Linked DNA regions of Homo sapiens: region 2 is linked to region 1. Evidence: promoter capture Hi-C in 16 types of primary human blood cells and fetal thymus (Javierre and others, 2016). All regions are on one chromosome and are shown on one strand. The core of a region is centred on a gene start or on the middle of the fragment in contact, and the rest is flanking DNA. Distances in the headings are between cores, read along the strand shown.

What was found. Contacts are between HindIII fragments. The CHiCAGO score rates a contact against its expected background, and 5 or more counts as called.
Region 2: the fragment with the promoter of LINC-PINT here is called in contact with the fragment with the promoter of HILPDA in region 1 in 1 of 17 cell types (total B cells); the score reaches 5.3 in total B cells.

The regions. Positions count from the first base shown.
Region 1 is chr7:128,453,134-128,457,981 of GRCh38, reverse strand. It overlaps HILPDA (hypoxia inducible lipid droplet associated), which reads right to left and starts at 2,104. Exons shown (of 2, transcript NM_013332.4): 1 at 1,959-2,104; 2 at 1-781. The coding sequence starts at 713. The coding sequence ends at 522. It also overlaps the pseudogene EFCAB3P1. RefSeq lists a silencer at 2,052-2,191 and enhancers at 2,292-2,461, 3,370-4,076. The HindIII fragment of the contact is 2,271 bases long and covers 2,055-4,325 here.
Region 2 is chr7:131,107,263-131,112,110 of GRCh38, reverse strand. LINC-PINT (long intergenic non-protein coding RNA, p53 induced transcript) reads left to right here and starts at 2,186. Exons shown (of 8, transcript NR_170176.1): 1 at 2,186-2,374; 2 at 3,308-4,391. It also overlaps a transcript of MKLN1 not described here. RefSeq lists silencers at 621-680, 1,831-1,980, 2,061-2,110, 4,168-4,227, 4,248-4,297 and enhancers at 398-939, 3,334-4,185. The HindIII fragment of the contact is 3,581 bases long and covers 1-3,462 here.

The DNA.
Region 1 (4,848 bases), core at 855-3,354:
ACCTATCTCATAGCCATAAGCAATCCACTCACACCTGTGCATTAAACAGGCTTTTTCTTTTCTTTTTTTTTTGAGATGGAGTCTTGCACTGTGGCCCAGGCTGGGTACAGCAGTGCGATCTCGGCTCACTGCAACCTCCGTCCCCGGGTTCAAGCAATTCTCCCGCCTCAGCCTCCCAAGGAGCTGGGATTACAGGCCTCTGCCACCACACCCAGCTAACTTTTGTATTTTTAGTAGAGATGGGGTTTCGCCATGTTGGCGAGGCTGGTCTCGAACTCCTGACCTCAGGTGATCCACCCACCTCAGCCTCCCAAAGTGCTAGGATTACAGGCATGAGCCACCGCAACCGGCCTAAACAGGCCTTGCCCAGGCAATGAGCATCCAGTTAGACAGGTTCTTCAAGGCCTAGTAATAGTTCTCTGGTTACAACGGTGCTCAGCTTGTCTGCTAGGAATGGGACTCCCATCTGGACATGTCTAGGTCAGTGTTCCAAAATATGGCCAGTATGGAAGGAGGTCTTATCACATGCTTCTGGATGGATGGTCTGGAAGGCCCTTGGTGGGCTCTGTGTTGGCTAGTTGGCTTCTGGTGGTCCAGGAGGTCCCAGGCGATGGGCTCTCTAGTAAGCCCTCTAGGGACTCCATCACTCTAACGAAGATGGAGAGTAGGGTCAGTACCACACCTAACAGGTAGAGGTTCAACACATGCTTCATGGCTGAAAGGACCCTACTCCTCTGCAGAGAAACAGAGCTGCCTTCTCCTTCTGAAAGGCCTCTGGACCCTGAGAAAAAAGAGGAAAGGATGAATCTATAGCCTTTTGGGGATATGCATGCATCCAGCCCTGACTCTTCTGTCCTCTCACAGGGCTGAAGGAGAGGCTTAGCCAGTGAGGGACACAGGGACCAGGGAGTTGCACAGCAACTCTCCAAGAATATTTTACATTGCAAACTTCATGGCTGCGGAGCCAGTGTTGCTTCTTGGACTAATTCAAGAACACTTCTTAAAACTTTTACTTTCTTAGGCCAGGCGCGGTGGCTCATACCTGTAATCCCAGCGCTCTGGGAGGCCGAGGCGGGTGGATCACCTGAGGTCAGGAATTCGAGACCAGCCTGACCAACATGGTGAAACCCTGTCTCTACTACAAATACAAAAATTAGCCGGGCATAGTGGCACATGCCTGTAATCCCAGCTACTCGGGAGGCTGAGGCAGAATTGCTTGAACCCGGGAGGCAGAGGTTGCAGTGAGCCAAGATCGCGCCATTGCACTCCAGCCTCGGCAACAAAAGCAAAACTCCGTCTCAAAAACAAACAAACAAACATTTACTTTATTGAAAATTTTGTTCCTGCAAGGCACAATACACAACCCCTGTGCTACAGTGCAGGCATCAGTCACCTTCCTGAAATAGGCCCAGTCCTTTTGCAGGGGGGTGGTGGGTAATGGGAAATATAAGAACATGCCCTGGAGAAAGGAACCTGCCTAGAAGTCTCTCCCACATCACAGATTGGAGTTAACTACAAACTTTTTGCAAGTCCAAATAACTCTATGAGGGTCAAATCTATCAAGTTCATTTATTTAACAAACATACCATGAATATCTGCAATGTGTTAGGTACCCTGGAAGATACTAGGGCCACATTGCAAACCTTATAGACAAAGGGTAGTTAACACGCAACACGCTAAGTGTTGGGACAGCAAGGAGATCGTGAAGGTGCTCTGGGAGGGCATGGCAGGGATGCCTAACTCAGCACCTGTGGGCGTGGGATGGGCCACGTGGATCCTAGTTAGGACCACCTTAGGACAAAACAGGGCTGACGGCTGAATGGGGACCCCAGATGGGGCGTGGGCGATCAGAGAGGATCCCGGCGGCGCACCCCCAGCCCTGGAACGCGAGGCTGCTAGCGCGGCGAGCACTCTAGCGATGGGGGTGGGGAGCCGGGGAAGCCCACAGGGCCGCTCACCTCCGGGGGAACAGCCGGGAGTGGATCGCCGGCTGTAGGAGCAGGTCGTGCAGGAGTCCGGAGGAAAGTCGGTTACTAAGCACCAGCGCAGAAGCTTCCCGCCACAAAACTCACCGGAGACAAAAGCGCCGTCAGCCGCAGAGCGCAGAGCAACGCCGCCCAGCCTCCGCCCCTTATAGCCGCGAGCACGCCCCAGGAGGGTACGCGCACGCGCACTGGAGGCCGCACGCACGCCCGGGACGCACACGACGTGGCGCACGTCCGCGGCCCCACCCCGCGGGCAACGGGGTTTGGGGATTGTCCCGGGTGCTCTCCCGCGGAGCTGTTTCCAAAAGTACACGTCGTGCGGTTTTGAGTCATTGTGTTCTGGAGTGAGACGAGGCGTGTGTATTAATCTCGACTGCCATCTCTGCTGTAGAAAACATTTGAAGGAGTCAGAGAGCACATATCCCTTCTCCCCAGTAGGTGAAAAACACCGATGGCCTTCGTGTCCGTGAAGCCCCGCCGTGAAGGGTGGGTTCTTCCCCAGAGATTTCGGGTGCACTAAATTGTCAGAGGGCACCAGACCCCTACCCCACTCGTTATTTTCTTCATTTCAAGGACTGAAGAGCTGGTTTTGTTTCACTTCATAGCTGTACCAAGATTCCAAATCCCGAGTTTCAGTTGCCATCGGTATCTCTGGAATGGTGAGGCCCTTGTGCAACATATTAAGCTCTGCAAGCTCTGCTTTCTATGAGAGTTTGTCGTGTCGCTTCAGAAAACGTGAAATACTCCTGGCCCTGGTGTGGGATCCTAACTGCATATGGGCAAGTCACTTGGTATTTAAATGGGCCTCGGTTTTCTCATCTGTAATGAAGACATTGGCCACTAGATGATTTTTCTTCTTCTTCTTCTTTTTTTTTTTTAAATAGAGACAGTCTCGCTATGTTGCCCAGGCTGGTCTCGAACTCCTGATCTCAAGCCATCCTCCCACCTCTGCCTCCCAAAGTGCTGGGGCTACAGGCGTGAGCCACCGCGCCCGGCCGCTAGATGATTTTTAAGGGTGCTTTCGGCTTGAACTAAAGAGCCAGGAGGTCACAGACCAGCCTTATGTCCAGATTTGGGGGGCTAGGCTGCCTTACTAATCACCCCCGAACCCACCCAGCCAAGACTGTGCGGTCTGTCTTGAGAGCACGCAACGGGGGATCTCAGAAAGTAGAGTCCCGGAGAGACACTGGGAATGGGGAGGACCCCCGGGAAGGGGTGTACACGCCGTGGAAGGGAAGGCCGCTGGTGGCTTTAGAACTGGCGGTTCCGTGTACCCGGGTCAAGTGCCCGTGCCGGATGGGAAAGAACCCTGTGACTTTCCACATCTCAGCGAGCTCGGCGGGCTCTGCTTAAGAAGGGCTCTAAGACGGGAAGGGAGGAGCCATCCCCACTGCGACCTTTCCCCTCCTTTCCTGGCTGGCTGGCTGTGGTCTGTCGGGAATGAGGGGGTGGGGAAGCCGGGAAAGCAGAAGGTTGGGGCTGGAGGTCTGCTGGCAGGCAGGCAGACATTTGGAGCCAACTTTCCTGCTCAGCCCGCAGAACTTTTGGTCCTTCGCTATACCAGAGTTTCGTCTGTTTTTTTGCTTGACTGTGTGACCCTTCTCTCACACTGTTATTAAATAGGTCTCAAGCTGCGAAATCACTGCCAGATCCAAACGCCACTACTTTGCCAGGTGAAGGCCTTGGGCGAACCCTTTAACCTTCTTGTAGTTCTGTTTCCTCAGCTGTTCTGTGAGATCATAACAGTCTTAACCTGATATTAAATGAATTAATCCATATAAAGCGCTTAGAACAATGCCTGGCACATAAAAAACATTCTATGAATCTTAACATTATCTGTATCATCAACTACAAAACTCCCAGTGAGGGGTTTTGCTCATTAGCAGCCTAGGCTTGCTGAATGAATGCAGGAATTCTACAATGACCATTTGAGTTCTACTTAGTTTGAGTTCTAAATTTATACTTCACACAGCTGGAAGAAGGGATGGGCACCTCTCCAACAATTCTTTCTCCCCATATTCCCTGCCATTGTCTAAAGGTCATGCCAGTTGGAAATAAGAAGGGTTTGGGTGAGGGCAGCTCTATGCTTTACCATTCTGTCAGCTACAAATGTAGCTACCTGCATCAGGATTTAGTCCTGCCTTCAACACCTTGGCCAGGCTAACTGACCCCTTTGAACTTTAGTTTCCTTATCTGTAAAATGAGGAAAATAATCTGTAAAACAGGGTTGTTGTGAGGGTTGGAAATAATGCCCATAAAGAGTATGTCATATATGCTCAACAAATAGTAGCTATTATTTTGCTAAAAAGTATAAAGCCAGATTCTTGTTCTAAATAAGCTTGTCACCTGGTTGAGTAAACAAGACCTGAATAAGATAAGATAACTAACAACCCAAGGCAGTGTGGGGTAGAGTTTAGAAGTAAGTACATAAGTAGGGTGGTAATGTTTTGCTTGGGGAACTGGGATTTTAACATTCACTATGGTTATTTAAAAAAAAAAAAAAAAAAGAGCTGGGCATGGTGGCTCACACCTGTAATCCCAGCACTTTGAGAGGCTGAGGCGGGCAGATCACCTGAGGTCAGGAGTTCGAGACCAGCCTGACCAACATGGACCAACATTCTCTACTAAAAATACAAAATTAGCCAGGCATGGTGGCGCATGCCTTTAATCCCAACTACTTGGGAGGCCGAGGCAGGAGAATCACCTGAACCTGGCAGGCAGAGGTTGCACTGAGCTGCGATCAGACCATTGCACTCCAGCCTGGGCAACAAGAGGGAAACTCCATCTCAAAAAAAAAAAAAAGAAGAAAGAAAGAGTGGAAACAAAATAAGCATTCTTCAAGTAACTGATACGTGCTGAACAT
Region 2 (4,848 bases), core at 937-3,436, 2.7 Mb before region 1:
AGAATCCACCTATTTACATAGGGCTTATCTTTCTGATATTGCCTTTGCAATATCCTTGTTATAAAGAGGAAGGAACTGAAAACAAACAAAACAAAACAAGGTTGTCTTGTCCAGGGACATAGAGGAATTGGTAAAAAAGACAATTAGTACACAAAGTGATGGGGTTTCCTATTTGTAGTGTAGCCTTGTAGTCACACTGTGTTCTCCGAATGCCACAATGCTAACCCAAAATTACTTGTCCTTCCTGGGCCTGGATTCCATTCAATTTTATGCCTTGTTTAGTCTAAATGATTTCCCCAGCTTCGACATGTATTTATTTATTTATTTATTTATTTATTTATGCGTTTCATTTTAGAAGTATACTTAAATCTACTCTTTACTCGAGTTTGTCTTAGTTCTAGTGCTGAGGAATGAAGATTCTGGGTAAAAGAAATCAAGATGATGTTTTTTTTTTCTAGGCTTTACATTTCAAGGATTGTTTCTCAAATGGCAACTGGCAGTCTACTCCTCAAATGATGACGTTTTCCACAGGAATTACAATTTAATTGGAATATTTTGTTTTCAATGGGAAGCAAAGATTTCTTTCCAAGAGGATCAGTTTGATAATGTTTTACCAGCTAGTGCTACGAGACCAAATATAAACCAGTTCTGAGAAACAGGAAGTGAACTGACTGGTCTAGTCTGAGTGTCCCTGGCAGTGACGCAAATACAGAAATCAAATTAGGAAAACAAGATATGTGGGTGTGAGGCAATCGATAATAATCCAGGATGCTACAACATAAGCAAGAATGCCTTTAACCCGATGCCATTCATTTTAATAACACCCTGAGCAGTTTGATTTCCACGGAACACGCTGGTGATTAGAGAGCAGCAGGAGCTTGGGTTCCCTAGCAACAGCATGTGCTTTTGAGACAGTCATTAGCCTTTCAGTTAATCCCATCAACCCCTTACCTCTAAATGTATGACTGACATAAAAAAAATGATGTTTTAGAAAGTGCTTTGAAATTTCCAGGAGTGCAATGGAAGGGAATAATCATAATTAAAAAGTTGTCTGGAGAACTACACTCCAGTGAAGGAAGTAATGTTCCTACGTGCCAAGCCTGTCCGTATATTTCCCTGCTCTCAGTTGTAGGTTTCTGAATCCCCTGTGGCAAAGGGCAAGGGAGGTGAAATTGTTCAGAGTTTCAGGCAGTCTTCTCACCTAAAGTGAGTAGTATTGCAATGTCTCTTGGAATCATGGCTCTGAAGATGAGGAGAGAAGCGGGATGGGCAGTTTGTGTGGTGAGGAGGCTGGCTGCAGGTAGGCTGGGAGGGAATGTCACACATAGTTTTCTTTCTCCTTTAAGCCGAATGAGGTATGCTGGTCAAAGGAACTTGGGGAAGGAGGATGGTGAGGGGAATGAAGTTCTTCTTCCTATTGATTGTTTTGTTGCACCAGAGGCTGTTTGTCCAAGGCCACTGGCCAAGAGCATTATTTTCGTGGCTAAAGTGAGGTTGGGCAGGTTTCCCATCCCTTTCACTAGTTTTGAACAAGACAACCCAGAAAGCGCAGCAAGGCTCTGGGAATATGATGTGGGTTGGCTTTTCCTACTCAGCTGCACCTTAAAGCGCCAGGCCGATGGGCTGATACTTCTCAAACCCTGAATCATTGCCTCCAGCTCTGTCCTGGGTTCAGGATGCACCACTCCACCCTCTGTGTAGCTTGGGGTCAACTTCGGGGCGTCACTCCAATAGTAATTATTGCTGCGTTTGGCTGGACATCCTTATTACGGCCTGGGTCCCTCTCAGCTGGAAACTGGGCTCCTTCAGTTTGGCTGGGGTGACTTCTAGCACTTCCCGCCGCCCCACCTTACCCCCCTGCGCGCTCCCTTCCCAAGGCGACCACCTGCACCGCCCCACTTACCATCTGCCCCGCGGGGAGGGCCCCCCGGGCTAGCGGAGCCCTCCCTGCTCCCGGGCGGCTCTGGAGGAGCTCGGTGTTTGCCTCTAGCCCTTCGCTACCGGAGGATCAGGTTCCTCCCCTCCTCCCCCTCCAGCTCCGGCCGCCGCCGCCGCCGCCGCCGCCTCCTTCTTGCATGACACAGCAGAACCGCAGCTGCTGCAGCAATTTCAAGCCATCCGCCCAGGAAGCGCCGCAACCGGGACTCGGGAGGGGTGGAGGGGGCGAGGCAGAGGCCGCGGCCCCAGGGGATCCTTGGCCCCACTGTGCACCACACACTCCTTTCCCAGCCCAGGGGCACGCGAACAAAATGAGGCTCAAGCTGACCAGGCCGAGCCGGAGGAACGCTGGGGCTTGGCAGCAGAAGGGATGGGACCAGAGAGAAGGGTGTGGAGGAGACCCCAGTGAGGGCCAGGACATTTCAGGTAAAGAGAGGTAAGAAGAGGCCCAGAAGTCAAGGGCCAGACTGTGAAGGTGATTAGAGGTCAAAAGAGGTAAGGAGGTAGAGTTGCAAAGAAGAGAGGCCGAGCTGGGAAGGGCGTGGGGGTGGGGGTAGCTGCAGGGGAGGGTGGGGGGTACAGTCTTTGGGGAGGCCCGAGCTGAGCCCCCAGGCAGAAAAGGGGCTGAGTTGGGAGGCAAGGGAGGTAGGAGGAAAGGGATGAAAAGAATTAGGCATGAGATAGGAAGGTAAAACTTGGGAGAGATATTATAGAATTAGAAGGGTTGGAATGGAGCTCATTCATCATGGCTGATGAAGTAAACTGATGAGGTGGAGAGAGACAGAGTCAAGGCAAGGCCAAACGAAAAGATCTTCCATCCCACTCTTCAGTTTCTTGCGAAGTTTTTCTTGATTCCGCCAATCCACACAGTTTCCTTTATAAAATGGAAAAGCATGAACTAAAAAACCCAGAAATAGCTATCTGGCTTAGATTTACAGGATAAAATCTCCATGTCTGTAAAAACTTTAAGGCAGAAATTTGGGATTTATGGTACAAACCCTTTAAGGGACTGTGAGTCAGTAATACCCACAGCACTCAACATTGTGAGTTTCCACACATCCCTGGACTTGAGTGAGTCTTTCCAAGTGTTTGTTAATGGTACAAATGATGACAAAATTAGTGGTTCAAAAATATTAAAGTGCACATGCTTTTTGCTTTCTCTATGTATACAGAGATTACATATATGTATACTTTCTAGCGTCTAGCAAGTATGGTATGGCTAGGGATAATTATGTTTTTCTGATTATTTTGTTTCCCATCAAACACCCCACGAATTTTACAGCAGACCGCCTTCTTGTCACCATTTGAAAGAATGTGGTCAGAAAAGTAATGCAAAAACTGCCACTTTGGTTTTGTCTGTACCTTCCAGGTCATATCTCCGTACCTCACTTCCTGACACAAACAAGTTTTCACTGTTGTCAGCAACAAAGCCCTAATATAGCTGCGGAAGAGAAAAACTGCATTGCATTTTGCCTCCTGCAAGCATCATCAACAGTTACTGGAGGAACGTAATTCCAGAAAGCTTGAAAGCCGTGGTGATGGTAATTATGTATCAAATGCCTGGTTCTATTTCTGTTATTATTGTTTTGTCATTTCTGTTTTCCCAGCGATCTGACTGAACTCGCAGAGGGACAAATCCAGTTTTTCTTTTTGACTTTTGTCAAACTAAATCAGGCCTGATAGAAAACTCATTGCTCTCCGGGGAAACAAAGTAGGAGCCACGAAATGTCATTTTAACAGAGCGTGGGTTTGGTGACTGTAGGAAAGGATTTGAGGACGCTCCTTCTGTTCGGCTTCCTATGTCATGAGCACAGGCTCCACGCACGCACAGACACCACGGCTCCCGGATGCTGTGGCTCCCCGATCGGGGCTCCTGCAGCGCCAGAAGCCCCTCCGGGATGCTTCGAGGGGCTCCCGGTGGGTGGAGGTACGGACGCCGCTGCGGCCGCCGCCGCCAGTCCTGCTGCTGTTGTTGCTGCTGCAGTCACGTGGGAGCCCCTTTAAGTTTCCATAGAGAGGCCTCTCTGGTGTCACATGATGGACATGATATAATGAAACAACATTGTGGAGAGGAAAGCATTAGGGGAGCCCACGGCTACAAAAACAAGTGAGTGAGAAGAGGTGGGAGGAAGAGAAACTACGCCACCTCCCCTGCAGCCGAGTGCACGCAGCAGCCTGGCGTGACAAGTGGGCGACGCCGGGGGGCAGGGAGCCGGGGTCCTTGGCCCTGGCCGGGGACCCCACCGCCCACCGCGCGGAGGACAACTTTTAGCCGGCAGCCCAGACCAGCGCGGCACCTGTCTCCGGAGTCTCCACCGCTCCTCCCGATTCATCCCAGGGAAATTCTCAAGAATACGCTCTACAAATCTACGTGCGCATCATTTTCACCTCGCGTCGCGCCCGGGAGGAAGGAACGAGGCAAGGAGCTAAAGCAGCGTGCGTTCAGCCCTGGGGTAAGTTCGTCGGGTGGGGAAGCCGGTCCCGCAGGACTTTGGGATGGGAATTTTGCTCTCCTTTGCGATCTCAGGGCGTGAAGAAGGCGTCCCCTCCGCTGCCGGCGGAGCTGATCGGCTGGCTAGTCAATTTCCCCTTAGCACGCCCCGTGCGCCCACCCTCGCTCAGCCCGGGGCCCCCTCGCCGTCCCCCGGAAGGGGTCTGCGGTTCCTGGCCAGGACGTTCGGAAGGCGAGCGGGGGAAGGTAGGGCTGTCGCGGGAACCCGGCTTGTGAGAGCGATTTCGCCATGTTTGTGTTGCTAAGAGCACTTTTTCCCCTTTGCTGTGGCTTGATGCCACATGGCTCCTCCGGAGCTGCTGCCGGGCTGAGAGAGTGTTTTTTTTTTTTTTTCAATGTCCGCATTCCAGCTAATGTTGCGCAGATAAAATTCAAACTTGAGGTAAACAGAAGAAGAG